Regions from separate parts of the Homo sapiens genome. Here all the other regions are linked to region 1. The links are contacts of gene promoters, found by promoter capture Hi-C in blood cells and fetal thymus (Javierre and others, 2016). All regions are on one chromosome and are shown on one strand. The core of a region is centred on a gene start or on the middle of the fragment in contact, and the rest is flanking DNA. Distances in the headings are between cores, read along the strand shown.

The links. Contacts are between HindIII fragments. The CHiCAGO score rates a contact against its expected background, and 5 or more counts as called.
Region 2: a fragment that was not itself captured here is called in contact with the fragment with the promoter of OR10A7 in region 1 in 15 of 17 cell types (total B cells, naive B cells, M2 macrophages and 12 more); the score reaches 13.3 in total B cells.
Region 3: a contact is called between a fragment that was not itself captured here and the fragment with the promoter of OR10A7 in region 1, in 5 of 17 cell types (M2 macrophages, M1 macrophages, total B cells and 2 more). The highest score is 6.9, in M2 macrophages.
Region 4: a contact is called between a fragment that was not itself captured here and the fragment with the promoter of OR10A7 in region 1, in 12 of 17 cell types (M2 macrophages, total B cells, naive B cells and 9 more). The highest score is 13.9, in M2 macrophages.
Region 5: a fragment that was not itself captured here is called in contact with the fragment with the promoter of OR10A7 in region 1 in 7 of 17 cell types (naive B cells, M1 macrophages, M2 macrophages and 4 more); the score reaches 8.9 in naive B cells.
Region 6: a contact is called between a fragment that was not itself captured here and the fragment with the promoter of OR10A7 in region 1, in 3 of 17 cell types (M1 macrophages, M2 macrophages and naive B cells). The highest score is 5.8, in M1 macrophages.
Region 7: a contact is called between a fragment that was not itself captured here and the fragment with the promoter of OR10A7 in region 1, in 3 of 17 cell types (total B cells, megakaryocytes and M0 macrophages). The highest score is 6.0, in total B cells.

The regions. Positions count from the first base shown.
Region 1 is chr12:55,219,302-55,223,039 of GRCh38, forward strand. It overlaps OR10A7 (olfactory receptor family 10 subfamily A member 7), which reads left to right and starts at 1,724. Exons shown (of 1, transcript NM_001005280.1): 1 at 1,724-2,674. The coding sequence starts at 1,724. The coding sequence ends at 2,674. The HindIII fragment of the contact is 4,903 bases long and covers 1-2,728 here.
Region 2 is chr12:55,625,548-55,629,285 of GRCh38, forward strand. No RefSeq gene overlaps it. Among named protein-coding and RNA genes, the nearest start is that of OR10P1, 9.5 kb to the right of the region's middle. The HindIII fragment of the contact is 3,558 bases long and covers 1-3,409 here.
Region 3 is chr12:55,602,569-55,606,306 of GRCh38, forward strand. No RefSeq gene overlaps it. Among named protein-coding and RNA genes, the nearest start is that of OR2AP1, 32 kb to the left of the region's middle. The HindIII fragment of the contact is 5,423 bases long and covers 1-3,738 here.
Region 4 is chr12:55,580,676-55,584,413 of GRCh38, forward strand. It overlaps the pseudogene ATMINP2. Among named protein-coding and RNA genes, the nearest start is that of OR2AP1, 10 kb to the left of the region's middle. The HindIII fragment of the contact is 2,465 bases long and covers 419-2,883 here.
Region 5 is chr12:55,552,436-55,556,173 of GRCh38, forward strand. It overlaps OR6C4 (olfactory receptor family 6 subfamily C member 4), which reads left to right. Exons shown (of 2, transcript NM_001005494.2): 2 at 1-3,397. Among named protein-coding and RNA genes, the nearest start is that of OR6C4, 4.7 kb to the left of the region's middle. The HindIII fragment of the contact is 3,988 bases long and covers 1-3,669 here.
Region 6 is chr12:55,528,530-55,532,267 of GRCh38, forward strand. No RefSeq gene overlaps it. Among named protein-coding and RNA genes, the nearest start is that of OR6C4, 19 kb to the right of the region's middle. The HindIII fragment of the contact is 4,855 bases long and covers 1-3,738 here.
Region 7 is chr12:55,495,276-55,499,013 of GRCh38, forward strand. No RefSeq gene overlaps it. Among named protein-coding and RNA genes, the nearest start is that of OR6C68, 4.8 kb to the left of the region's middle. The HindIII fragment of the contact is 190 bases long and covers 1,842-2,031 here.

The DNA.
Region 1 (3,738 bases), core at 474-2,973:
GAAAAGCCATTCATCTTAGTACTGCTTTCTGCCACTGTTAATATTAGAATTCTGAGAGGCAGTTGGTTGAGGCATTTTAGGATGCACTAAATATTGTAACTACTATAAAATCTTGATGCCTTCATCAACTCCCATATTTTTTCAAAACAAAAGATGGTGTAATTTTAGACCCATAACAAGTTTAGAATTGCTCCAAAATGTAGGTAAGCATGATAATGCATATGAAGTTTTTCGTAAGTTTTTATGAATATACCAGGAATATGATGTTGTTGTTTCTATTCCTGATGACAAGAATGATAGTGAAGCTGGTTTTGCAATAGTAGTGAGAGAGTAATGGTTGTAATCACTGTCACATGTTACCTATTATTTTGGGACTTACAAGGGCATGGGAAACCTGAAATCACCAGAGTTGTTCCTTTCTTTTTGCTACTGAGGACATTCCTTTGAGAACTTACAATATGGAAAATACACAGGTAAGATGTTACATGTCTTAAGAGTAGAATTAAAACATAGAATTATTTAAATGAGCCACAGTTTCAGAATGATTCCATACACTGTAAGTTTTTACCTACTGACTTCAGGAGCGGATATCTATTTTAAATTATTTTGACTATAAAATGAAATATGCATTTTTTTCTGAATTAAATTTAAAAAGTATGTAAAATAATTGATACGATATTTACCCAGTTCTAATATTTGGAAAAAATTATTTTTCTAACACATCCTCCTGTAATTGCTAAATTTTGGTACTAAGAATGACCTCCTGTAAAGAAAACAATTGCATAATTTAATGTTGGCCAAAATATTTTGCTCTAAGTAAGATATAGTATTTGAGTTTGTAATGGTTGAATTAGTGCTTTTGGGACTGGATCAGCTGACATACAAAAGTAAGTATATGTACCCTACTTCTGATCATGAAGTTTTAAAGAAGATGGACAGTCATGAGAGGAACTATTTTGGCAGAGAAAAGTTAAGATGAGTGTTGGGAGGATATTTCTCTATTGTAAGTCATATTTGTTTGGAAGTTTTTAAAAAATATAGCTTAAACAATATAACTATAACTCTATGTATAATAAGAAGTGGGGGCCCAGTGAAGTTGAGTTATGGTTCAAAAGACAATATAAAAATGTCATAAACTATTAGGCTGATGGAGACTACAGAGAAGCACCAAAATCATAAGCATATATTATGTTTATTTATTAAGTTTCTTGTGTGTGTGTGTGTGTGTGTACTGGGCATGTTGGTATATGTATATATTTATAGTGGATGAATGGTATAAAATGTACTATATTCAGTAGAAATGTGATTAATATAATTAAATATTAGAATGTCAAACTAGCCCATTATTTATCTTTATTGCATCCTGAAATCATTTAAAAATTAGTACACTATTCTATTTTAATTATCTATCTACACTCTTTCCACTTTATCCTACAAAATAGCATGCCTACGTTGAAGAATATGAGCACAGACTATGACTACTCATGAGAAAAAAATTACATCTAGGTGGTAAACAATGAGTAAGATTTATACAGAATGTTTATTTTTCCTTAATTTTATCTTATCATAAACATCATTTCTGCTTCAGAGAAACAGAATGGTAAGACAACTGAGAATAAAGATGTTTTATGGATGTTATTATTATTTTTGAGATTACCTCTATATTGATTTAATACCCTTTGATGCACATACTTTGATTTTTAGAGAGAAACTCATCTAAGATATGATCTGTGAAAATCACACCAGAGTCACTGAATTTATTCTTCTTGGTTTTACAAACAACCCCGAGATGCAAGTTTCCCTCTTTATTTTTTTCCTGGCCATTTATACAGTCACTTTGTTGGGCAACTTTCTTATTGTCACAGTTACCAGTGTGGATCTCGCACTTCAAACACCCATGTACTTCTTTCTTCAAAATCTGTCACTTCTTGAAGTATGTTTCACCTTGGTTATGGTGCCAAAAATGCTTGTAGATCTAGTGTCCCCAAGGAAAATTATCTCTTTTGTGGGCTGTGGTACCCAGATGTACTTCTTCTTCTTCTTTGGCAGTTCTGAATGTTTCCTTCTCTCCATGATGGCTTATGATCGCTTTGTGGCCATCTGTAACCCTCTCCATTATTCAGTCATAATGAACAGGTCCCTATGCTTGTGGATGGCCATAGGCTCTTGGATGTCCGGTGTTCCTGTGTCTATGCTACAGACAGCTTGGATGATGGCCCTTCCTTTCTGTGGACCAAATGCCGTGGACCACTTTTTCTGTGATGGTCCCCCAGTGTTAAAACTAGTCACAGTGGATACAACCATGTATGAAATGCAAGCACTTGCCTCCACACTCCTGTTTATCATGTTTCCCTTTTGTCTCATTTTGGTTTCCTACACCCGCATTATCATAACAATTCTGAGGATGTCCTCTGCCACTGGCCGCCAGAAGGCATTTTCTACTTGTTCCTCACACCTCATTGTGGTGTCCCTCTTCTACGGAACAGCCAGTCTGACCTACCTGCGGCCCAAATCAAACCAGTCCCCTGAGAGCAAGAAGCTAGTGTCATTGTCCTACACTGTCATCACACCTATGCTAAACCCCATCATCTACGGCCTGAGGAACAATGAAGTGAAAGGGGCTGTCAAGAGGACAATCACTCAAAAAGTCTTACAGAAGTTAGATGTGTTTTGACTTCTATTGTGTAAGAATGCTTCCAAAGTAGGGACAGCAGAACCTACTAACCAAAGCTTAAAACGGAATGGAAGAGTTGCTCTTATTTCATCACTAACTGGTGGGTGCATTTCTGTGTATCATTCAGGTTCCTAGCAGGAAAGAGATGGTACTCCTGAATTGGGATAAGTGAGAAAACGCTTTATGAGAGGGCTATTTAGAAATTGTGAACAAGGTTAGGTAATAGCCACACAGATCATACAACAGAACTTTTACACTTCTTGGCCTGAAGGGGCAAGTAGAAGGAGTGTTAACTGGAACCAATAGAATGCTACAACTATTAAAAAAAAATCACCTGATAGGATCTCTGTTCTTTAGTACAGCAAGGCAGCCATCCCAACCTTATTTTGATCTGACTCTCTCAAATCTATTGCTGGCTTCTGTTCTAAGCCAAACCAAATACAACATGGGGACAAGAATGTTGATGCAATGTATAAATGCGAGTCTCCTGGGGCACAGAGCAGGATGAAAAAGGGTAAGGAAAGTTATGAAAGATAAGTAAGAACAGCCACCACAAACCACTGTATATTCTGCAGCTATTGCAGTGTAACAACGAATCATGGCATCTAACCTTACAAAAATTATAAAAGGTAAAGTTTTGCAGATGCCAAGAGTCCATAATACAAATTCTTTATATGGGTTGTATGTTTAAATAAAGTTATTTAATAAAATTACCTTAGTATTAATATTTGGTGACATGATTTTGGACTTTTTTAGTCATTGGCTAAATTATCCATTAATTATTTAATAGTAAGCTCTTCTTAGAGTTTAAACAAGAAATATTTGCTTGACACCAGAGTAAAGCAAAAGAGTAATAGTAGTAGCAAACATGGTTTATTGAGGAACTGTCTTTGACACATGCCCTTGCAACAACTCAAGAGATAATTATTATATCTATATTTTTCATAAAAGATAAATTACAATCAGAAAATGTAAGTAACTTGGTAAGGCAAAAGCTATTGAGATGTGGCCACAATAGTTTGAGTCAGACCCTTTTGAATTTGAAATTCAATATATTAACCTCT
Region 2 (3,738 bases), core at 381-2,880, 410 kb after region 1:
GAGTCACAAGGACAGGAAGCAAATATTTTGCAAGTCGTTAGGTTTAGTGGCAAGGGGTGCCACTCCTACTTCAACCCCTTGGTAACCAATGTATTTTGTATTTGTATTTTGGCTATTTGGCTATTGTATTTCGGTTATAGGAGAATACCACATATTGGTCTGGGGTTCAGAGCCTATGTCTCACCTATAAGAGATCACTCAAACTTTTCAAGGTTTTTTCTCCCAACTGGTGCTGTATTTGAGTTTTTAATTGGCCATTCTATTGTTCAAAAAAGGCCAGGTGGTTCTGGGGAATGAAGTTACAGGGTAATCCCAATGAGTCCTGTGAGCATTGGCACATTGTCTCACTTGTTTTGCTATATATTTTTTCCTTGATTAGATGCAATATTATGTGAAATATCATGACAACAAATGCAGCATTCAGTAAGTCCGTGGATGGTGACACTTGCAGATGCAGGCAGACAGGAAAGATAAATCCATGCCCAGAGTAAGTGATTATCCCAGTGAGTGCAGAGCATTGCCTCCTTCAGGCAAGGGGTACAATGTAATCAAACTATCCCCAGGCATATTAGTTACCCATTGCTATGTAACAAATTACTACAAAACTTCCCTGCCTAAAACCACAGACAATTATCATCTCACAGTTTGAGTTGGTCAAGAATCCAGGAGAGAGCAATGAGCTGGGTGCCTCTCGCTCAGGGTCTCTCACGAGGATGGAGTCAAGCTGTCACCGAGGGTGCAGTCACTTAAGGGACAACTGAGGTTGGAAAATCCACTTCTAAACTCATTCATGTGCCTGTTGGCAGGCCTCAGATCTATTTCCAGGTTCACTCACATGGTTGCTGGCAGGCTTTGGCTCTTCCTCATGTGAGTCTCTCCACAGGCTGCCGAGTGTCCTCAATATGGCAACTTGTGAGAAGGGGGAAGAGAAAGACAGAGACAGAGGCAGAGGAGAACCAGACAGGACCCAAGATGAAAGCCAAGTCTTTTTGCAACATAATGTCAGATATCCCATCACTTTTGCCATGTTCCCTTCATTAAAAGCAGGTCACTGGTTCCAACCTACACTAAAAGGGAGAGAATTACACAAATGCATGAGTATCAGAAGATGAGTTTCATGGAGAACTATCTTAGAGGCTGCCTACTACACCAAGCTATTGTTACTGGCAAGTTACACACTCAGCCATGGCATAGCCAGACCAGCCTTGGTGAGGGGAACCATTGTCGGTAAGCCTGTGCCTAACCTTCATCCCTTCCGCCATGGACATTTTGATTGTGATCCCTTGAATAAGCACTGGAGATGCTGGAGAAGGCTGACTGACATCTACCAGCTGGGTCATCTTGATCCCTAAGTATTAACAGTATCTTCTGTAGTGAGAGACCTTTCGTGAGCATCCACATTGTCTCACCATTGTCCCACATATTCACAAATAGTCTCGCAGTCTGGACCCATTTTCAAAAGCTCATTCATAGAATAGTAAGATGGTTGAGAGCATGAACTCTGCAGCCAGATCACCTGGATTCAAATGCCAGCTCAGCCATTTACTAGCTGTATGGTCTTGTTCAAGTGCCTAACCACGCTATGCCTCAGATTCCTCTTCAGTAAAGTCAGCATAATAGTTGAAACTACCCCACAGTGTTTTGGGAGGATTCAGTAAGTTAATATATAAAAAGTGCTTAGAACAATATCTGACACAGAGTGAGCATTACAGAAGTGTTAGTGATGATGATGATGGTGATGATGATGATCCCCAGAATGCCTTGTCACTCATTCTCCTGTATTGTTCCTTCTACTTCCTAAACCTCCTGCCAAACAAACCATTAGCTGCTGCTCATGGATCAATGTAAATCCATATCTCAGGCCATCCTTCTTCCAGGAAAAGCAGACTCTTTAAGTTGTACTATCAAAATTCTGCTCAGCAGGCATTTTTCTTCTCCACTCTTCCTCAGGTCACCCCTTTTTTCCTCAGGGTCAACCCCCATTACTGGGGCTATAATGCCATAGATGTCCATATCTAGTTAGTCCCAGCAGAGTTGTGCAAAGTTCTCTGTAAAGCTGGGCCCAAATATTTTTCCTCCTCCATCAACCAGTCATGAGGAACACTACATGAGGCCATAGGAAGAAAGGACATTAGTGTGTCAAGAATAGACATGACGGGAGTGTGGACCATGAACTGGTGGAATGTCCTTGTGACTTCAGGACTTCTTCAAGTCTGATCTCATGTATGCCCCTTCACTTGAAGATGGGGTGCTTCTGGGCCTGACCATGCAGCTTTATCAATTGGGAAACACCCAGGTCATAAAGGGCAGCTCAGGTTGCAGAGTCACCTGGTATCCCAGGGTCAGGTGTTTATCCTCTGCCAGAGATCAAATAACAAGCAATGGCTCAGAGCAGTGGCTTGTGCTTGTAATCCCAGCACTTTGGGAGGCCAAGGCAGGAGGATCACTTGAGCTCAAGAATTTGAGACCAGCCTGGGGAACATAGTGAAACCTCATTGCTACTAAAAAAGTTTTAAAACTTAGCCAGGCGTGCTGGCGCACACCTGTAGTCCCAGCTACTCAGGGGGGCTGAGACAGAAGGATTGCTTGAGCCCAGGAGGTCGAGGCTGCAATGAGTCCTGATTGTGTCACTGCACTCCAGCCTGGATGACAAAGTGAGACCCTGTCTCAAAAATACATAAATAACAAACAAGGAGATATTTCTCAAAAGTATAATAGTTACTTGGTGAAGAGGGCGTGGACTTTCTCTGAATCCTTGGGGCCTCCACTACAACTCTTCTGTGAATGGGGCTTTTCACAGGCTCCAAACAGCACCAATTCAGCCATGGCACTTCTCACACCTTCAGATTCCCTTAGTCATAAAAGCCAGCAACAGAATTAGCTGTATTGCAGCCTGGACCAGCCAATATCCTTCTCTTACTCTGGGCCCCTGGCAAAGCTACAAGTTTTATGTGTTTAGCTGAAAATATAAAAGACCTAAGCCTGACAGTTTCTTTCTTTAAGCTGCCAGAGCAGTTATGAACAGCAACCAAACTCACTGTCATTTAACTCCTTGTACCCATACCATGCTCAGGAATCACCATTCAGCGGCACTTCAGATGATGATAGGTAGTTATTTCTGTAACTGTTTCACATCGGAAGGCTGAAAACCAAAGATTACCAGTCTTCCATCCTCCAATAGTACTGAATCCTCATTGTCTTTAAACCCAATGAGATCAAATGATCATTCCCAGATTCCCACCCTTGCAACAATTTCTGGTACTAAACTCTGTGTCAGTATATGTCAGAGTTCAATTGCAAATAATGGATACCATCCTAGCTAGTTTAAGCAAAAATATGTTTAATTCAGATAATTAGGTGCTTACAACACAAAATCAATGAAGGGACTAGAAGAGCATATTCTCATCTAAGCTTCTAGAAATGAGTTTTAGAATAACACTGTAGATCAGACCTGCCAAGAAATTTGCTACCACTGCCAAGGTCAAGAAAGTGGGGCACTAGGAAGACATTGCCCCAACTGCCTGGCTCCAAAATCACATCACCTCCAGCTCCATCCATGCCAGGCGAAATGGATACTCCAGACCTTGTCTTTGGACACCCACAGCACTGAGACCTCTGCTACAACTGCCACAGGAAACCATGACTAACCTTTTCAGGAGAAACAACAGAAGCAAGAGAAGCACAGCCTCTGCCTCACTTCTTCTGCCTTGACTTGAATAAGAAGAACTCACTTGTGGG
Region 3 (3,738 bases), core at 739-3,238, 380 kb after region 1:
TGGAAGAACATTCCATGCTCATGGATAGGAAGAATCAATATTGTGAAAATGGCCATACTGCCCAAGGTAATTTAAAGATTCAATGCCATCCCCATCAAGCTACCAATGACCTTCTTCACAGAATTGGAAAAAACTACTTTAAAGTTCATATGGAACCAAAAAAGAGCCCGCATCGCCAAGTACATCCTAAGCCAAAAGAACAAAGCCGGAGGCATCACGGTACCTGACTTCAAACTATACTAAAAGGCAACAGTAACCAAAACAGCATGGTACTGGTACCAAAACAGAGATATAGATCAATGGAACCGAACAGAGCCCTCAGAAATAATGCCACATATCTACGACCATCTGATCTTTGACAAACCTGAGAAAACCAAGCAATGGGGAAAGGATTCCCTATTTAATAAATGGTGCTGGGAAAACTGGCTAGCCATATGGAGAAAGCTGAAACTGGATCCCTTCCTTACACCTTATACAAAAATTAATTCAAGATGGATTAAAGACTTACATGTTAGACCTAAAGCCATAAAAACCCTAGAGGAAAACCTAGGCAATACCATTCAGGACATAGGCATGGGCAAGGACTTCATGTCTAAAACACCAAAAGCAATGGCAACAAAAGCCAAAATTGACAAATGGGATCTAATTAAACTAAAGAGCTTCTGCACAGCAAAAGAAACTACCATCAAAGGAACAGGCAACCTACAGAATGGGAGAAAATTTTCACAACCTACTCATCTGACAAAGGGCTAATAACCAGAATCGATAATGAACTCAAACAAATTTACAAGAAAAAAACAACCCCATCAAAAAGTGGGTGAAGGATGTGAACAGACACTTCTCAAAAGAAAACATTTATGCAGCCAAAAGACACATGAAAAAATGCTCATCATCACTGGCCATCAGAGAAATGCAAATCAAAACCACAATGAGATATCATCTCACACCAGTTAGAATGGCGATCATTAAAAAGTCAGGAAACAGCAGGTGCTGGAGAGGATGTGGAGAAACAGGAACACTTTTCACTGTTGGTGGGACTGTAAACTAGTTCAACCATTGTGGAAGTCAGTGTGGCGATTCCTCAGGGATCTAGAACTAGAAATACCATTTGAGCCAGCCATCCCATTACTGGGTATATACCCAAAAATTATAAATCATGCTGCTATAAAGACACATGCACACGTATGTTTATTGTGGCACTATTCACATTAGCAAAGACTTGGAACCAACCCAAATGTCCAACAATGATAGACTGGATTAAGAAAATGTGGCACATATACACCATGGAATACTGTGCAGCCATAAAAAATGATGAGTTCATGTCCTTTGTAGGGACATGGTTGAAGCTGGAAACCATCATTCTCAGCAAACTATCGCAAGGACAAAAAAACCAAACACCACATGTTCTCACTCATAGTTGGGAATTGAACAATGAGAATACAAGGACACAGGAAGGGGAACATCACACACCGGGTCCTGTTTTGGGGTGGGGGGAGGGGGGAGGGATAGCATTAGGAGATATACCTAATGTTAAATGACGAGTTAATGGGTGCAGCACACCAACACGGCACATGTATATATATGTAACAAACCTGCACCTTTGCATATGTACCCTAAAACTTAAAGTATAATAAAAAAAAATCAGAAATGACACAAATAAATGGAAAAACATTCCACCCTCACAGACAGGAAGAATCAATATCATTAAAATGGCCATGCTGCCCAAAGCAATTTATAAATTCAATGCTATTCTTATTAAACTATCATTGGCTTCCTTCACAGAACCAGAAAAAACTATTTTAAAATGCATATGGAACCAAAAAAGACCTCGAATAGCCAAGGCAATCCTAAGCATAAAGAACAAAGCTGGAGGCATCACGCCACCTGACTTCAAACTATACTATAGGGCTACAGTAACCAAAACAGCATGATACTGGTACAAAAACAGACACATAGACCAGTGGAACAGAATAGAGAGCCTAGAAATAAGGCCACACACCTACAACCATCTAATCTTCGACAAAGCTGACAAAAACAAGCAATGGGAAAATGACTCCCTATTCAATAAATGGTACTGGGGGAACTGGCTAGCCATATGCAGAAGATTGAAACTAGACCCTTTCCTTACACCATATACAAAAATAAACTCAAGATTGATTAAAGACTTAAATGTAAAACCCAAAACTATAAAAACCCTGGAAGACAACCTAGGCAATACCATTCTGGACATAGGAACAAGCAAAGATTTCATGACAAAGACACCAAAAGTAATTGCAACAAAAGCAAAAATTGGCAAAGGGGATCTATTTAAACTAAAGAACAGCAAAGGAAACTGCCAACAGAGTGAACAGGCAACCTACAGAATGGGAGAAAATTTTTGCAAACTATGCATCTGACAAAGGTCTAATATATATCTATAAGGAACTTAAATTTACAAGAATAAAAACAAACAACCTCAAGTGGGCAAAGGACATGAATAGACACATTTCAAAAGAAGGCATGGCATACATGCGGCCGACAATCATATGAAAAAAGCTCAACATCACTGATCATTAGAGAAATGCAAATCAAAGCCACAATGAGATATCATCTTACACCAGTCAGAATGGCTATGATCATTAAGTCAAAAAATAATGTTTGCTGGCAAGGTTGCAGAGAAAAAGAAACACTTATACACTGTTGGTGGGAGTGTAAATTAGTCCATCCATTGTGGAAGACAGTGTGGCAATTCCTCAGAGATCTAAAAGCAGAAGTACCATTTGACCCTGTAATCCCATTTCTGGGTATATACCCAAAGGATTATAAATCATTCTATTATAAAGACACGTGCATATGAATGTTCACTGCAGCACTGTTCACAATAACAAAGACATGGGATCAACCTAAATGCCCATCAATGGCAGACTAGATAAAGGAAACGTGGTACACATACAACATGAGATACTATGCAGCCATAAAAAAAGAACAAGATCATGTCTTTTGTGGGAACATGATTGGCACTGAAGGCTATCATCCTTAACAAGCTAATTCAGAAACAGAAAATCAAATACTAAATGTTCTCACTTATAAGTGGAAGCCTAATGATGAGAACACATGGACACATTGAGGGGAATGACACACACTAGGGGCTGTCAGAGGATGGAGGGTGGGAGGAGGAAGAGGATCAGGAAAAATAACTAATGGGTACTAGACTTAATACCTGGGTGACAAAATAATCTGTACAACAAAACCTCATGACACAAAGTTTACCCGTACAACAGACCTGCACATGTACCCCTGAACTTAAAATAAAAGTTAAATTTAAAAAGAGAAACTGAAACTATGACATGAACATACATAATCCTTACTCTATTGCTATGTACCTAAGTAGAATTCATTACATTAAATTGATATAGTGATGGTAATTATAATAAATATTTTCCAAGTAAAAAAATAACAAATGTTGGCAAGGCTGTGGAAAAAAGGGACTGCTTATACTCTGTTGGCGGGAATGTAAATCAGTTCAGCCACTGTGGACAGCAGTTTGGAGATTTCTCAAAGAACTAAAAATAGAACTACCATTTGACCCAATACCCATTACTGAGTATATATATCCAAAGGAAAATAAATTGTTCTACCAAGAAGACATGCACTCATATGTTCATCACAGCACCATTCACAACAGCAAAGATATGGAATCAACCTAGGTGCCCATCAATGGTGGAGTGGATAAGGAAAACATGGTACATATATAACATG
Region 4 (3,738 bases), core at 401-2,900, 360 kb after region 1:
CCCTATTTCTTGTAAAGGATTAGACAGACTTTTACCCAGGTTCACTTGAACAGCCATATTAGTTGGCTCAACAGCAACAGGATTTACAATTTTTTGAAAGAGGCAGTCTCTTCTTAGGAGAGCAAGCCTCTGAATCTAGGGCATGGATCAGGGTTCCTATTGACAAGGCGGTAGGTGCACAGACTCTGTGGCAGAAGCCTGATCGATACCTCACACCACGGGTTCAGCCAGGGAGTCAGTTGCAGGCTCAATGACAAGCATAGGAGAAAACTGCATCACACGTAATTTAACAAGAACCACTTTGGGCTGTGGTAAATGCAACTTCTAAGGCTACTTCAGAGGTGTTGTAAGAGTCTGCTTTCTGGCATTAGAGCTTCAAGATTCTTTTAAAAAAAAAAGCTACTGTTTTTATTTCTGAAGCTTCTGGTTCTTGAGTGTCTGTCTAGAAGTTGGTTGGTTGTTTAGTGATTCAATGGTCTTATTGGACCCCCTCTAGTTTTATAGACTGTTTTACATTTTCCTTTTCTAATAGGTAGATCCCTGTATTCTGCAGGGACCATGGCCAGTTTAGTAAACGTCTGACTGTAATACCATTCCACTGGCATAGGGACAGACACATGTGCACTCAAAGATCTTGCCACAGTCCGAGTGTCTCTTCAAGTCTCATTACTACATTTATGTTCTCAGCATGCATTTTCATAAAGTGTTGCTTTACGAGAGAAAATTGAGAAAATGGTTTGTGAGAGCGTCCAGGGCATCCATCAACTGGACAACAGTAAAATTTCAGTACGGGTTATCAAACCATTTCTTTTTCTTTTTTTTAACTTTTAAGTTGAGAGATATAAGTGCAAGTCTGCAACTTAGGTAAACTTGTGTCATGGGAGTTTGTTGTACAGATTTCATCACCCAAGTATTAAGCCTGATACCCATTAGTTATTGTTTCTGATCCTCTCCCTCCTCCCTCTCCACCCTCCAGTAGGCCCCAGTGTATGTTGTTCCTTTCTATGTATCCATGTGTTCTCCTCATTTAGCTTCCACCTGTGAGAACATGCAGTATTTGGTTTTCTGTTCCTGAGTAAATTTGCTAAATATAATGGCCTCCAGCTCCATCCATGTCCCTGCAAAAGACATGATTTTTTTCTTTTTTATGGCTGCATAGTATTCCATGGTGTATATGTACCACATTTTCTTTATCCAGCCTATCATTGAAGGGCATTTAGGTTAATTCCATGTCTTTCCTATTGTGAATAGTGCTGCAATGAGCATACGCATGCATGTGTCTTTATAAGAGAATGATTTATATTGCTCTGGATATATACCCAGTAATGGGATTGCTGGGTTGAACAGCATTTCTGCCTTTAGGTCTTCCAGGAATCACCAAACCATTTATTATTGTTGGGTCTACTATTCCATCCTACAGGCAGTGGCTGTTGACCAAGAACATGCTGAGCGTGGGGCTGCTGGGCAGGATCTTGCACAGCCAAGCACTGTGTGCAGGTTATTGGTCCACACTGCCTGGGACAGCTTGATCACCAACTGCTGGATCAGCTCCCAGGCTGATGGCATCAGGCTGCAGGCTGCTGTCCCTCAGCTGGGGTCCCAGAGGCCCCCACAGGCTTGAGGCAGCCTTGACTTCCCTTGTGGCTGCCAGGATGGCCAGGGGGCCAGCCGCCAGCACTGCTGTCAAGGTTCCCATACAGCCACAGAGGCTGATCATCTATACTACTCTCTGATCTGAACTATGATTATCTGTGAGTCAGTTAGTGAAAGATATTCCAACTATATCTGCTATGCTATGTTCCTTTAATTTAGAAAAAGACAAATATGAAAAACATTGTAACCTCAATCCTGAGTAGAGTAAAGGCAAGAGTATAAAAATTTCTTTGTACGTTTCTCTAATTTATTTTACTTTATTTAACACACAAGGAGACAACATTTCTCTACTTTAAATATCTCAATAAAGAATCTTGGTGACCATTTTCATCAAATGTGTAGCATTTGATGAAATCATATATACTTCCTCCAAAATATTATGATATAGCCTCCTTTGTGACAAAGAAAACTCCACAGAACATAATATTCTTGGAAAATACTGTCTCCAGTTTGACATGCCATAGATACTAGGCATGTTAGGCCTGTACCATAATTCAAGTATTGTCTGGATGGAGCTGGACAGTGAGGCAGCTATCTAATCCTACTAGCCATAATACTTTATTTCATGTTAAGTTCCCACACCAATGTTATGTTTGTCCTTTCCCAAAAATATAGAAAATCATAAAAATATCACTAGTAAAAATTCAGACTGTCATAACATTTAGTTCTTCCTGCAATTTTGGAAAATTATCACAATTTCAATAAAATTTCTAAGAACTTAAAAATAGGAAGAGTATCAACAGTAGTTAAAATTCATGGAAATTCAGTGTCTACACCAGCAATTCCTTGTTTTGCTTTCTTTTCTAAAACTGTCAAGAATAATTGCAAATAAATACCCAAAAGGAAGAGATTATATAGATTATAACTGGCTTATTAATTATTTAAATATTTATTGGCTTGAACTGTGGGTGAACAATTCTTTGCATGAGAAAATGCAGGGAAATTCTAGAACTTTCACAGCTTTGCATAAAGTTATTTCTTCTTCATAGGAGCTTCCTGCATCTTTTTGGACCTTTTGGATGTGAAGTCTCTGATAGCATAGATCTAATTACTCCCAGAATATATACATGCTCACAATGTAGCATCATCATAAATTTGATGGGCTAAAACTGTGCCCACCTAGGTCATCCACCTCTAGACTGCCTAGTACCAGGTTCATACTGTGCATATTTAGTGCCTCTGACTGGTCTGATCCTATATATGAAAAGGGTCTCATTATTATATAACAGAAGCTTGTACATCAAAAGTTGATTCAGCACAAACTGTTACCCCTCCCCACTTATGCCCATATCACTCACTCTTTATTCCACACATATTCTCCCTCTCAAGGCCTTTGGCTTTGGCAATTTCTCACAAAGTAATGTTCCCCTGCAGTTCTTGCCTGATTCAATTAACTTCCTTTTATCAATAGCTGTCATTTTTGTTTGTGTTAGCATCTCCCTTTCTCTGATAAATATTTCACCCTGCTCCAGTCTTGGATTTCTGATGGAACTGTCAATCCACTCATCTCTCCTTATTTGACGTCATTGATAAACATACAAACTGGCCCATTCAATTATGATACCACATTCCCCTAGCTAAAAGATTGAGTCAGAGTTAAGCATATGAACCAAGATGGACCTTATGACCTTTTTGATTTAGACTTGAAAGAAAAGAGAGATGGTGCCATGCTTTCTGGATCATAGATTTCAAGGACTATATATTGGAGACTGTCTACTGTCTTCCAAGTGAAAAAATCTGTCTCAAGAAAAACACCAACCTTAAAAGAAGAAAATGGGGAGAGAGTAACTATGTTTGAGTCCCTGTATTCTAGATCTAGTAACACCTGAAACCAGTTACTGCTGGACTTATACATTATGTGAATTATAAATTTCTGTCTTCACTTAAGATAGTTTGGCTTGGGTTGCTGTCATGTGAAATCAAAAGATTCCTGATTATTCCTTCCCGGATTTTAGTTCTGTGATTTTAAACTAAGCTCTACTCTTCACCATAATACACAATTAATACCCAACAAAAATGGAACTTAGGACATTCCAACCCTATTATTGGCCAAAGTTCTAGGTTCTCCCATGTTATTCTATATTT
Region 5 (3,738 bases), core at 426-2,925, 330 kb after region 1:
ATTTGAAATTTAAGAAGCAAAACAGATTGTTTATTTAGAAGAGTAGGAGGATAAGAATTTAGAGTGAAAAAGGAAACCAGATCATAAAAGTAAGTAATTACAACTACTGAGTTAGCTGGGTTTCATGAGTCAAGAAATTTTCAGAATTGTTTTGAGGAGAATGTAGTATCAGCATTGTTCTTCAGCATGGAGCCCTGGAGACTATGTTTCCATCGAGGAGTGAATAATTTTTCTTCTCCTCCATTTTTTCATCTATATTTCAAATGTAACCATTGCAACTTCCCTCCTTTCATAAGAGGAAAATGAAAGAATATATATTTAGTCTACTTTTCTCCAAATGAGGAGAAAATTTTTAAGATTTTTGTCAACTTAATATGTCCATTTTCTAGTTTATGGTTAAAACAGGTTTCTAGAGACAAGTTTAGAAGGCTTTCATTCTCCTAGACAAAATCTATTGTTTCTTTTCTTAGGTGACATTTTAAGTTAATGGCATGAGATCTGTTTTCTCTCTCTTTGATAGTTTCTGGTAATTTTTTCCTTCCTATCATGATTTTATTTTCATCCTTTTGTTTCACTTTATTAGATATTAGAAAAGAAAATTCTGTTATCTGGCTCTACTTCTTTAACTTTCCCCCAGATTTTTGCTTTCGTTTGTAACATAAACCATGGATGACCATTTTATAAAGTAAAAAGAATATAAAGTGTCAATGCAATCTTATATCTAGAATGTTCCAAATTATGAGTCTTGAAAAACAACTAGAAATAGACTATCCTACCAAAAACTTTACACATGGATTCAAGGCAATGACAACTTGAATTTGAATAGGTAGTGGTAGTGTCCAATTTCAATGGAAGTAAGCACTTTTTTTTAATCTGAGCATTTGTACACAGTTTAATAATATCTTAAAAAATTGCAGGAGCTTTGTTACTATTTGGGGTAAAAGTGGAACACAATCTGGTATTTTCACATGCTTTATATGTGGTAATATGTTGAGTAAAATGAGGTACTTCTCAAGCATTTAAGGAACAAGCTGGATTGAACTGATTATGAGAGCAAATTATCAGAGCCACAGAAGGTATTGGAGAATGTATAATATTTTTGAAAAAGTATTTTATGTAAAGCTGTTGCTATTCTGAGTATCTTGTTTTCTTTGGTTGCTAGCTAGAGATTAGTGATAATATTCAATATATTCCAAATTTAATGCACTACAAGAACAAGAAGTGTTCTTGAATAGCCACATCTAAATCATTAAGTTCCCCTACACCCACATTTCTACTAAAACCTATGGTACAGTGGGAGCAATGTCATATAGTGGCTTAAAACATAGGCTTTAGTTCAAATCCCAGATTTTCAACTTTCTACCAAAGTTACCTGGGGATAGTTACTTGATCTCTCTAAGGCTCACCTCTGTCAACTCTAAAATGTTTACAATAATAGTGTCTATCTTATAGTTTTGAGCATTCACTGAGAAAATAGATGTAAAATATTAAAAGACAGCCAGTATTTATTGTGTTTAATAAATGACATCTATTATAACTATATTATAAACAATATATTTTTCAAGGAACTGGAGCTTAACTAGAAAGAAGGCATTAAATTGGTTGGTTTAATATAGCAGGGACAGTAAAAATGTTGGCCATTGTACTTGAAATCCATCTGCACAAGGCCAGCATATTTCTACTCTCCACACATCCAGCTGCATGCTGGGTAGCTGGGTCAGCAAAGATCTTACCTACTCTTCAGATAAAGCCATCAAAATACTTGGCAGCAGGTTATAAGAACTGGGCTAGCATCAACTTCATTGCCCTAGATATCTATGGGAGAGACAGGATGTATTAACATGCTGAGACAAGGAAGGAAGGTACTTTGTGTAAGTTAATGTTTAAGATCACTAGGCAAGAGTTCACTCAGCATTCTTTATATAAGCATTTGGAAATGAACATGGAAAAGAATGTATCACCTTCTAAATGAGCTTGTCAAAAAAAAAAAAGCAAGTCATATTCTTCTAAAGCTGTTCATCTAGTCTGGCTGTATGTTAATTCATACTTGGAATGTAATCCAAGTCATAGATAAGCAAAAGGAATGACTTCACAGAGTCTGGTGCTGAGCTACCAGAATATTCAGTATCTAAATATATAAAATGGTGAGTTTGATTCCTCATGTCACCAAAGTGGACAAGAATTAAAAGAAACAGCTTTAGCTGCCTAACATTCTCAGAATCATATTATACCAGTGCTAGGGTGAGGAGACTATGAAAATGAGTAAAAGCCAATCTGCTACATTTGGGCATTCATTCTTCTATTGCCTCTCTTTAAAGCTGCCAGAGCTTGTGGATATATGGATTACAATTCTAAACAGGTAGTCTTCCAGCATCATTTCTTGCAAAGAGTTTTAAATAAAATTCAAAACAATAAAATATATTTTTTAATTTTTTTTATTTCAGCCAGGATCAGTGACTCACACTTCTAATCCCAGCTCTTTGGGAGGCTGAGGCAGGCGGATCACTTGAGGTCAGGAGTTCAAGAACAGCCTGGCCAACACAGTGAAACCCCGTTTCTACTATTACATTGATAGAAAAGTAATTGTGGTTTTTGCTACTAAAAGTAATGGCAAAAACTGCAATTACTTTTGCACCAACCAAATAAAAATACAAAAATCAGCCAGGCATGGTGATGCGTGCCTGTAATTCCAGCTACTGGGAAGGCTGAAGCACAAGAATCACTTGGAGTACAAGTGGCCTTTTGTTACATCAGTGAATTAAATAGTGGTGAATTCTGGGATTTTAGTGCACCTGTCACCCAAGTAGTATACATTGGACCTAAGCTGTAGTTTTTTTATCCCTAGCCCCCTCCCATCATTCCCCTTCTGAGTCTCTAAAGTTCATTATACCACTCTGTGTGCCTTTGCATACTCATAGCTTAGCTCCCACTTACGAGTGAGAACATACTTATAAGTGAGAACATAGTTTTTGGTTTTCCACTCCCGTATTACTTCACTTAGAATAACGACTTCCAGCTCCATCCAAACTGCTGCAAAATACATTCTTTTGTTCCTTTCCAGGCCAGGTGCAGTGGCTCTTGCCTGTAATCCCAGAAATTTGGGAGGCTGAGGAGGGTGGATCACTTGAGTTCAGGAGTTCGAGACCAGCCTGGCCAACATGGTGAAACCCTGTCTCTATCAAAAATACAAAAATTAGCCTGGTGTGGTGGCACGTGCCTGTAGTTCCAGCTACTTGGGAGGCTAAGGTACAAGAATCACTTGAACCAGGGAGGCAGAGGTTGTAGTGAGCTGAGTTTATGCCACTGTACTCCAGGCTGGGCAACACAGCAAGACTCTGTCTCAAAAAAACATAAAATAAAATAATAAAAAATGTTGCTTCTTTTCATGGCTGAGTAGTATTTCATGGTGTATATATAGCACATTTTCTTTATCCATTCATTAATCATTGGGCACTTAGGTTGGTTCCACGTCTTTGCAATTGTGAATTGTGCTTCTATAAACATACATATGCCAGTGTCTTTTTCATATAATGACTTCTTTTCCTTTGGGTAAATACCCAGTAGTGAGATTGCTGGATCAAATGGTATGTTTGCTTTTAGCTCCTTAAGGAATCACCATACTGTTTTCAATAGAGGTTGTACTAATTTACATTCCCACCAGCAGCAATAAGCTTTCCATTTTCCCCACATCCACGCCAACATCTATTGCTTTTTGACTTTTTAATAATGGCCATTCTT
Region 6 (3,738 bases), core at 327-2,826, 310 kb after region 1:
CTAATTTTTGTATTTTGGGTAGAAATGGGGTTTCACCATGTTGGCCAGGCTGGTCTTGAACTTCTGACCTCAGGCAATCCACCCACCTCTGCCTCCCAAAGTGCTGGGATTACAGGTGTGAGCCACTGCGCCCAGCCTGGAGACTATCATCTTAAGTGAAGCAACTCACAGTGAAAAACCTAACATCATACGTTCTCACTTATAAGTGGGAGCTAAGCTATGAGGATACAAAGGCATAAGAATGACACTATTGACTATGGGGACTCAGGAGGAAAAGGTGGGAAGGGGGTGAGGGATAAAAGACTACAAATTGACTCAGTGTATAGTGCTTGGGTGGTGGGAATACCAAAATCTCACAAATCACCACTGAAGAACTTATTCATGTAACCAAATAGCACCTGTTCCCCAAAAACCTATGGGGATAAAATCATTTTTAAAAATAAAGCAGCACATCTAAAAATTAATTCACCATGATCAAATAGGCTTCATTCCTAGGATACAAGGTTGGTTCACCATATGCAAATCAATAAATGTGATTCAGAATGCAGAAAAATGGTGGATAGGAGACCAGACTAACAGGCAGCTCCCACTTGGATGGACAGAACAGCATCTGGAGACTCACATTTAAACTTTTGCACCAAGAAACACCACAGAAGCATACCAGGAAAAACAAAATAATTCACAGATCCTTTGAAAAAAGCAGCTTGCTGCTACAAATGTCGCAAGACCACCAACAAACTGTGAGTTCTCAAAGTGCGAAAGGGGGAAAAGTCAGCCTCTGAACATACATCCCCCCAGGGAACCTGAAAATCTGGATCACAGGAGAAGGATTTAACTTTATCTAGAGTAGAAACAGATTTAGGGAGCTGAGTGAAATGAAAAAGTAGAAGAAGCAGAAGAAAGAGCCCTGTAGAAATTCCTGGTCCCCAGTTCAAGCCCAGGGAAGCCATTCTTAGTCTTATCTCACAGAAGCCCTTAGGAAAGGGAAGGCAGACAGCAGAATTGGGGAGGGTCCACAGAGTGAAGGAAGCTCCTAGCTGAATTTTGTAATAATTTCAACTGAGCATGAATTTTCCTGAGCAAAATCCAGGGTTGGGGGGGTGAATGGGAAGTATAGATACAAGCACAGAAGCCACCACCAAAAAAAATGTATGCTGGTGAGGAGGGGTGAGGCCTGAAAACCCTACTTGGCTTTCTCAGTGGGGAGGCTTGTAGCCTGAGGAGAGATCTCAGCTCTGCTCATTGGCTGCCTGGATATAAACTCAGTGCAGTTGTGGGGATTGGCATGGTGGGAGTGAGACTGGCCTTATTGGCTGCATGGGAGGTAGCTGAGGCCTGTTACTGCCAGCTTTCCCCTACTTCCCTGGCAACCTGTATTATGCAGCAGAGGCAGCCATAATCCCCCTGGGAACATAACTCCATTGGCCTGAGAACCATCTTCTCATCCTCCACAGGGGCCACAGCAAGCCCCACCCAAGGAGTCTGAGCTCAGACCCACCTAAACCTACCTCCACCTGAAGGGCTTTCTCTACCCACCCTGGTAGCTGAAGACAAAAGGCATAAACCCTTGGGAGCTCTATGGCCCTGCCTATCACCTGAGAAACTGAAGTACTCATCCTGACCAATGTAGGGTAACATTATATCCCCCTTCTACTACTGCAGCTGGTGCTCTCTTGAAAGCACCACCTTCTGGGTGGAGGCCAACCAACTCAAGCCACTACAACAATTCATAACTGAACAATCCTGCTTCAAAAAAGGAGAAAACAACAGCTAATTCCATCACCGGCAACACCCTGGCTAACCAGAGCTCTTGAGTCTGTCCACGTGACAACTTCACTGTTGGCATAACCACCATTCAAGAAAACCACTGCACTAAACAAAACTACAACTAAGGATTCCCACAGAGTCCACTTTACTCCTTGCCACTTCCACCAGTGCAGGTGCTTGTATCCATGGCTTGGAGACCTGAAGACAGATCACATCACGGGACACTTTGCAGACATTCTGCAGCACCAGCCTGGAGCCAGGTAGCCCTGCGGGGTGGCTAGAACCAGAAAGGCAATAACAATCACTGCAGTCTGGCCCTCAGAAAGCTCCATCCCTATGGAAAAAAACAAGAGCACCACATTAAGGGATAACCCTGTGGGATAAAACAGTCTGAGAGTAACCCTTGAGTGCCAAATCTTTCCACTGGAACAGTATACCCAAATGAGAAGAACCAGAAAAGTCATTCTGGTAATATGACAAAACAGGGTTCTATAACACCCCCAAAAGATCACAGTGGCTCTCCAGCAATGGATCCAAACCAAAAAGCAATCTCTGAATTTCCAGATAAAGTACTCAGAAGGTTGATTATTAAGCTACTCAAGGAGGCACCAGAGAAAGGTGCAAACCAACTTTTAAAAAAAATTTAATAAAGGATATGAATTAAAAAGTCTCCAGAGAAATAGATATCATACAGAAAAGACAATCACAACTTTTGGAAACAAAAGACACACTTGGATATAAACTAAAATGCTTCTGCACAGCAAAAGAAACTATCATCAGAGTGAACAGGAAACCTATAGAATGGGAGAAAATTTTTGCAATCTATCCATCCGACAAAGGGCTAATATCCAGAGTCTACAAATAACTTAAACAAATTTACAAGAAAAAAACAACCCCACCAAAAAAGTGGGCAAAGGATATGAACAGACACTTCTGAAAAGAAGACATTTATGCAGCCAACAAACGTGAAAAAAAGCTCATCACTGGTCATCGAGAAATGCAAGTCAAAACCACAATGAGATACCATCTCACGCCAGTTAGAATGGTGATCATTAAAATGTCAGGAAACAACAGATGCTGGAGAGGATGTGGAGAAATAGGAATGCTTTTACACCATTGGTGCAAGTGTGAGTTAGTTCAACTATTGTGGAAGACAGCATGGTGATTCCACAAGGATCTAGAAACAGAAATACCATTTGATCCTGCAATCCCATTACTGGGTACATACTCAAAGGCTTATAAATTATTCTACTATAAAGATACATGCACACATATATTTATTGCAGCACTATTTACAGTAGCAAAGACTTAGAACCAACCCAAATACCCATCAATGATAGACTGCATAAGGAAAATGTGGCACATATACACCATGGAATACTATGCAGTCATAAAAAAGGATGAGTTCATGTCCTTTGCAGGGACATGGATGAAGCTGGAATCATCATTCTCAGCAAACTAATAAAAGACCAGAAAACAAAACACTGCCTGTTCTCACTCATAAGTGGGAGTTGAACAATGAGAACACATGGACACAGGAAGGGAAACATCACACACTGGGGCCTGTCAGGGTGTGGAAAGCTAGGGGAGGGATAGCATTAGGAGAAATAGCTAATATAGATGATGAGTGGATGGGTGCAGCAAACCACCGTGGCACATGTATACCTATGTAACAAAATTGCACATTCTGCACGTGTACCCCAGAACTTAAAGTATAATTTTAAAAAAAGCACATTTAAAGAATTGCAAAATACACTGTAAAGTTTCAATAATAGACTTGAACAAGTAAAAGAAAGAACTTCAGAACTCAAAGACACAGCTTTTGAATTAACCCAATCCAACAAAGACAAAGAAAAAAGAATTTTAGAAAATAAAGAACACCTCCAAGAAATTTGAGATTATGTTAAATGACCTAACAAGAATAATTGGTGTTACTGAGGAAGAAGACAAATCTAAAAGTTTGGAAACTTA
Region 7 (3,738 bases), core at 687-3,186, 280 kb after region 1:
AATATTCACCTGTTCTCTAAGCCCATGTCATTTGTTTCTATTGGTAATATTTGACAAATGCCTCTTGCTTTGTTTCTCAGCCTACATTAATCTTTGGGGTTGAAGGTAAAACACCCAGTGAACAACTTAATCAAATTGAATGTTTCAGGAAAGTTGTTTCCATTCCTAATTTCAGTGGAGAACCTCAAAACCCCCCAAAAGTTAATTATTGCATTCTATTAACCAATCCACAGTGTTTTTAATTCAGGGTTGTGATCTAAATCAGGCCAATCAGAGTTAATCAAGACTTCTTCTGGAAGTCTGATACATCGTACATTCTTTCTCCGATATGGTGTGAAAAAGTAACGTCTAACACTGCTATGGTTACAGTTTCTATCAGCGAAGGAACTACCCTGAGTACCAGGCCAGCACACAGATAAGGTTAGAGCACGTAGCTCAGTGAGTCACACAGAGATGGAAACAGTACCCTTATTGCCTCATGGACCTCTGGATCAAACTATGAGAAAGGTTAATTCCACAAGTTATATGAACTCAGTCAATAAATTATTTGGAGTATTTGTATGTATATTGATGTATTTCTTACACCAACATAGGTTTTTTTGGTAACTTGCCAGTAAAAGATATGAGAAATTGCTACCAAGAGTAGCAGAAAGAGGTGACAGATCTAAAAATTGTAATTGTACAAACCAATGTAAGAAAGGAAAAATTTCTTATACTGTAGTGAACAAATTGGTTAAACTGCCACCAGGCTTGTGTTGAGAATGCAGGATTTGTGTCTAGCAAAACTACAGGATTAGGGGACACAGTGGAAAAATTTTAGGGTGGTTGACTCTAAGTAGCTTTCTATAGCCATCAAAATGGTCATATAATAGAGAAAAATAAAGCTTACTTGAAACTGACTCACACAGAAAAAAGAAAAGATACTAAATTATTTCTCAGAATTCCTGTAAATCAGTAATCTGCAGCCTTGCAAGCTTGAAAAAGTCAATTTTGTATATTGCAAGTTAAAATTAATGAAAGCAAGTCTAGAATAAAGAACTCTAGTAAGAAATAATATGGGATATGGGACTCAACAATAGGATTTATTACTCGGGCACTGTACCACAGTAAATAATTTTCATGATGCATCCCCTGCTACAACTAGTAAAGATTGACTCCAGTTTACAACAGAGTAGGAGGGATCCATTCTGGAGACACAAGGCAGATTAAAGGTGCTTCCCTACACCTGGCCACTGATTTGAATTGTCTCCAGTTCATGATCAAGTCTAAGACAGTTACTAATGAGAGGTTTGAATAAAGCACTGGAAAAGAGCTGGATGTCATGTCACAAGTCCTCAGATTCATTTCTGAATCTGACTTAAAAATATCTTCAGCTTTGCTTCTGTAATGACTTGGCTCATAAATGATAAGTGAATGGGGATATATTGTCAAGATAACATGGGAGTCTTTAGTTTATTTATCATTTTTTCCCAGCATGTAATATTTTGTACAGTCAAGTAATAGCAAAGAGCACTATCAGAGAAGAATGCAGGAAACCATAGAGCATTATAACATCGTGAAACCAGACTGATTCATCCAGAATTCTTCCTCTTGGCTCATTTTGGCATATGTTGTCTTGAAACTACCCTTATCACCACAACTCAGCATCTTCAGCCCTTTCCTACCAACCCTTACATTCAACTACCTTTTAAGGTAAAGTCCCATATTTACTATAGTGTTTATTTATTAAAAATTTAACATAGATTTTACCTGTGCTAGTATTTTTATTAGAATTGCTTTGCACAAACTTAATTTTTAAAATAATGCTTATTATTTTTACTGTGTGACATTACCTAATACAAAGCTTTTCATGGTTGCACATATTGTGCTTTTGCAAAATACCAATAATTTAAGCTCCTCCAATGCCAAAGAAACACCAAGTCTGTCCAACAGCTTATGATTGCTTAGCTCCTCAGAAAATCTCAAGAGACATACACTCCCATTTTCAGCAAGAAGTGAACTGTTAGTTTTGTACAAATCCCTGTGGTGGAAAGCTTTAGTGCCCATTTCAAGTATGTGCACTCTGACAAGATGAAGACTATTTCCCAAATTTCAAAACCACGGGAACCTGGATTGGCCACCAATTGATTCACTCCAGTTGGGCAATTAATTCTTGCTATGCCTTCCAATTAGAACATGACACAATTTATAGACTAGTAACTGCTATACATTATTTTCCTTATTATTCCAAACGTGGAATAATGAAATGAAATGAAGTCATTTTCATTATCACCTTCTCTCTCTACCATGGTATATTGGGTGTGTTGGATGTGGCCAACGTTATTTAATAATAACTTCCATATCTGAGGAAAGATGCACCTACAACTAATAAAAGTAATTCAACATTATCCAATATTCCTGGACTTAAAGGAAAATGCACTTTGGGTTTGCCTTTTGAGAATTATTTATTAAGTTCTATGCACCCTTGAGCATTTTCAAAAGCTTGTATACTAAAACGTGTACAATTTCAAAGGATAAATGTTATGATACATAAATTGTATCTCAATTTATTTTAAATATAATTTTAAAGATGTTTAAAAAGCATACGTAGAGGAAGAAGCATGCTTGTGGAAACTAGGCTATCAAAAAGTATACATATTGTAATAAACATGCATTGTTTTAGTTTCAGTTTTTGTTTTATTCTGCTCAGCACCTTTTCTCCTTTCTCATAATAAACCATATAAGGCAAAACAAATAGACAAACAAAAAAACATGTTTATCTTATAGTTGACTACAAGAGTAAATGATGTAGTCTAGGATTATTCACATAGCATGTTCTGTTTGCCTAGCTACCGTAGTGCCTTGAAAATGACCCTACGAAAAAAAGCAGATCTTAATTTTTCCTGAAAACCCTAGAGACCAGACTACTTTCTTTCTTCTCACTGATGTTATATAAGGATATTATATGCAGAACTGCTGTCACAAGTATTGCTACTATAAAGGGAGCCAGCATGAGGATAAAAAGTCATACTGAGAAGAGTAGAACCTAAAAATTCTTAGGGAGGTGGAACCAGAAAAAAAAAAGTGACATGAATTTCTGAATCATAGTGTACCAAGCACCAGCCCTACCATCAGACTTTCTGTCTCACATCAATCAACAGAGTCTATTGTCTCTAACAAGTTGAAAATAGGTGTCTCATACGTGCAAGCAAACATTTCTAGCTGAATCAAAAGCTTTGTCACCCTACATGCCTCCACAGCACTTTGGGTTTTCCTAGGGTTATTAACAATAGAAGTCATAACAGATCGTTTCATTAATGGACTAGGGAGTCATGGTTCCCTTGCTGTATCATTTGCAAAATGATACAAGGAGAAGTGGAAAATGCTTGTACATTTGAGCTTGCCTTCCGTCTTTCTGCTTTTGGAACACAATTATTATGTGAAGATGCTAGGGCTCACCTGCTGGAAATATGTGTGGCCTATCCAGAGCCAACACCAACCACCAGACATGTGAGTAGGACTGCACAAAACAGATCTGTCCTCATTTGACTTACTAAATAATTGGTAATACCTGACTGAGCCAAGCCAGCATCCCTTGGAGTAGAGAGGAACTGCATCAGCAGAACCCTGACCAAATTGACAATTCACAACAGAATTATAAGCAAAAAAAAAAAAAAAAAAGGCTGTTAGTTTAAACCACTAAGTTTTAAAATGGTTTGCTCTGCAGCAAAGGGTAGCATATAGAAACTGGCCCAGAAT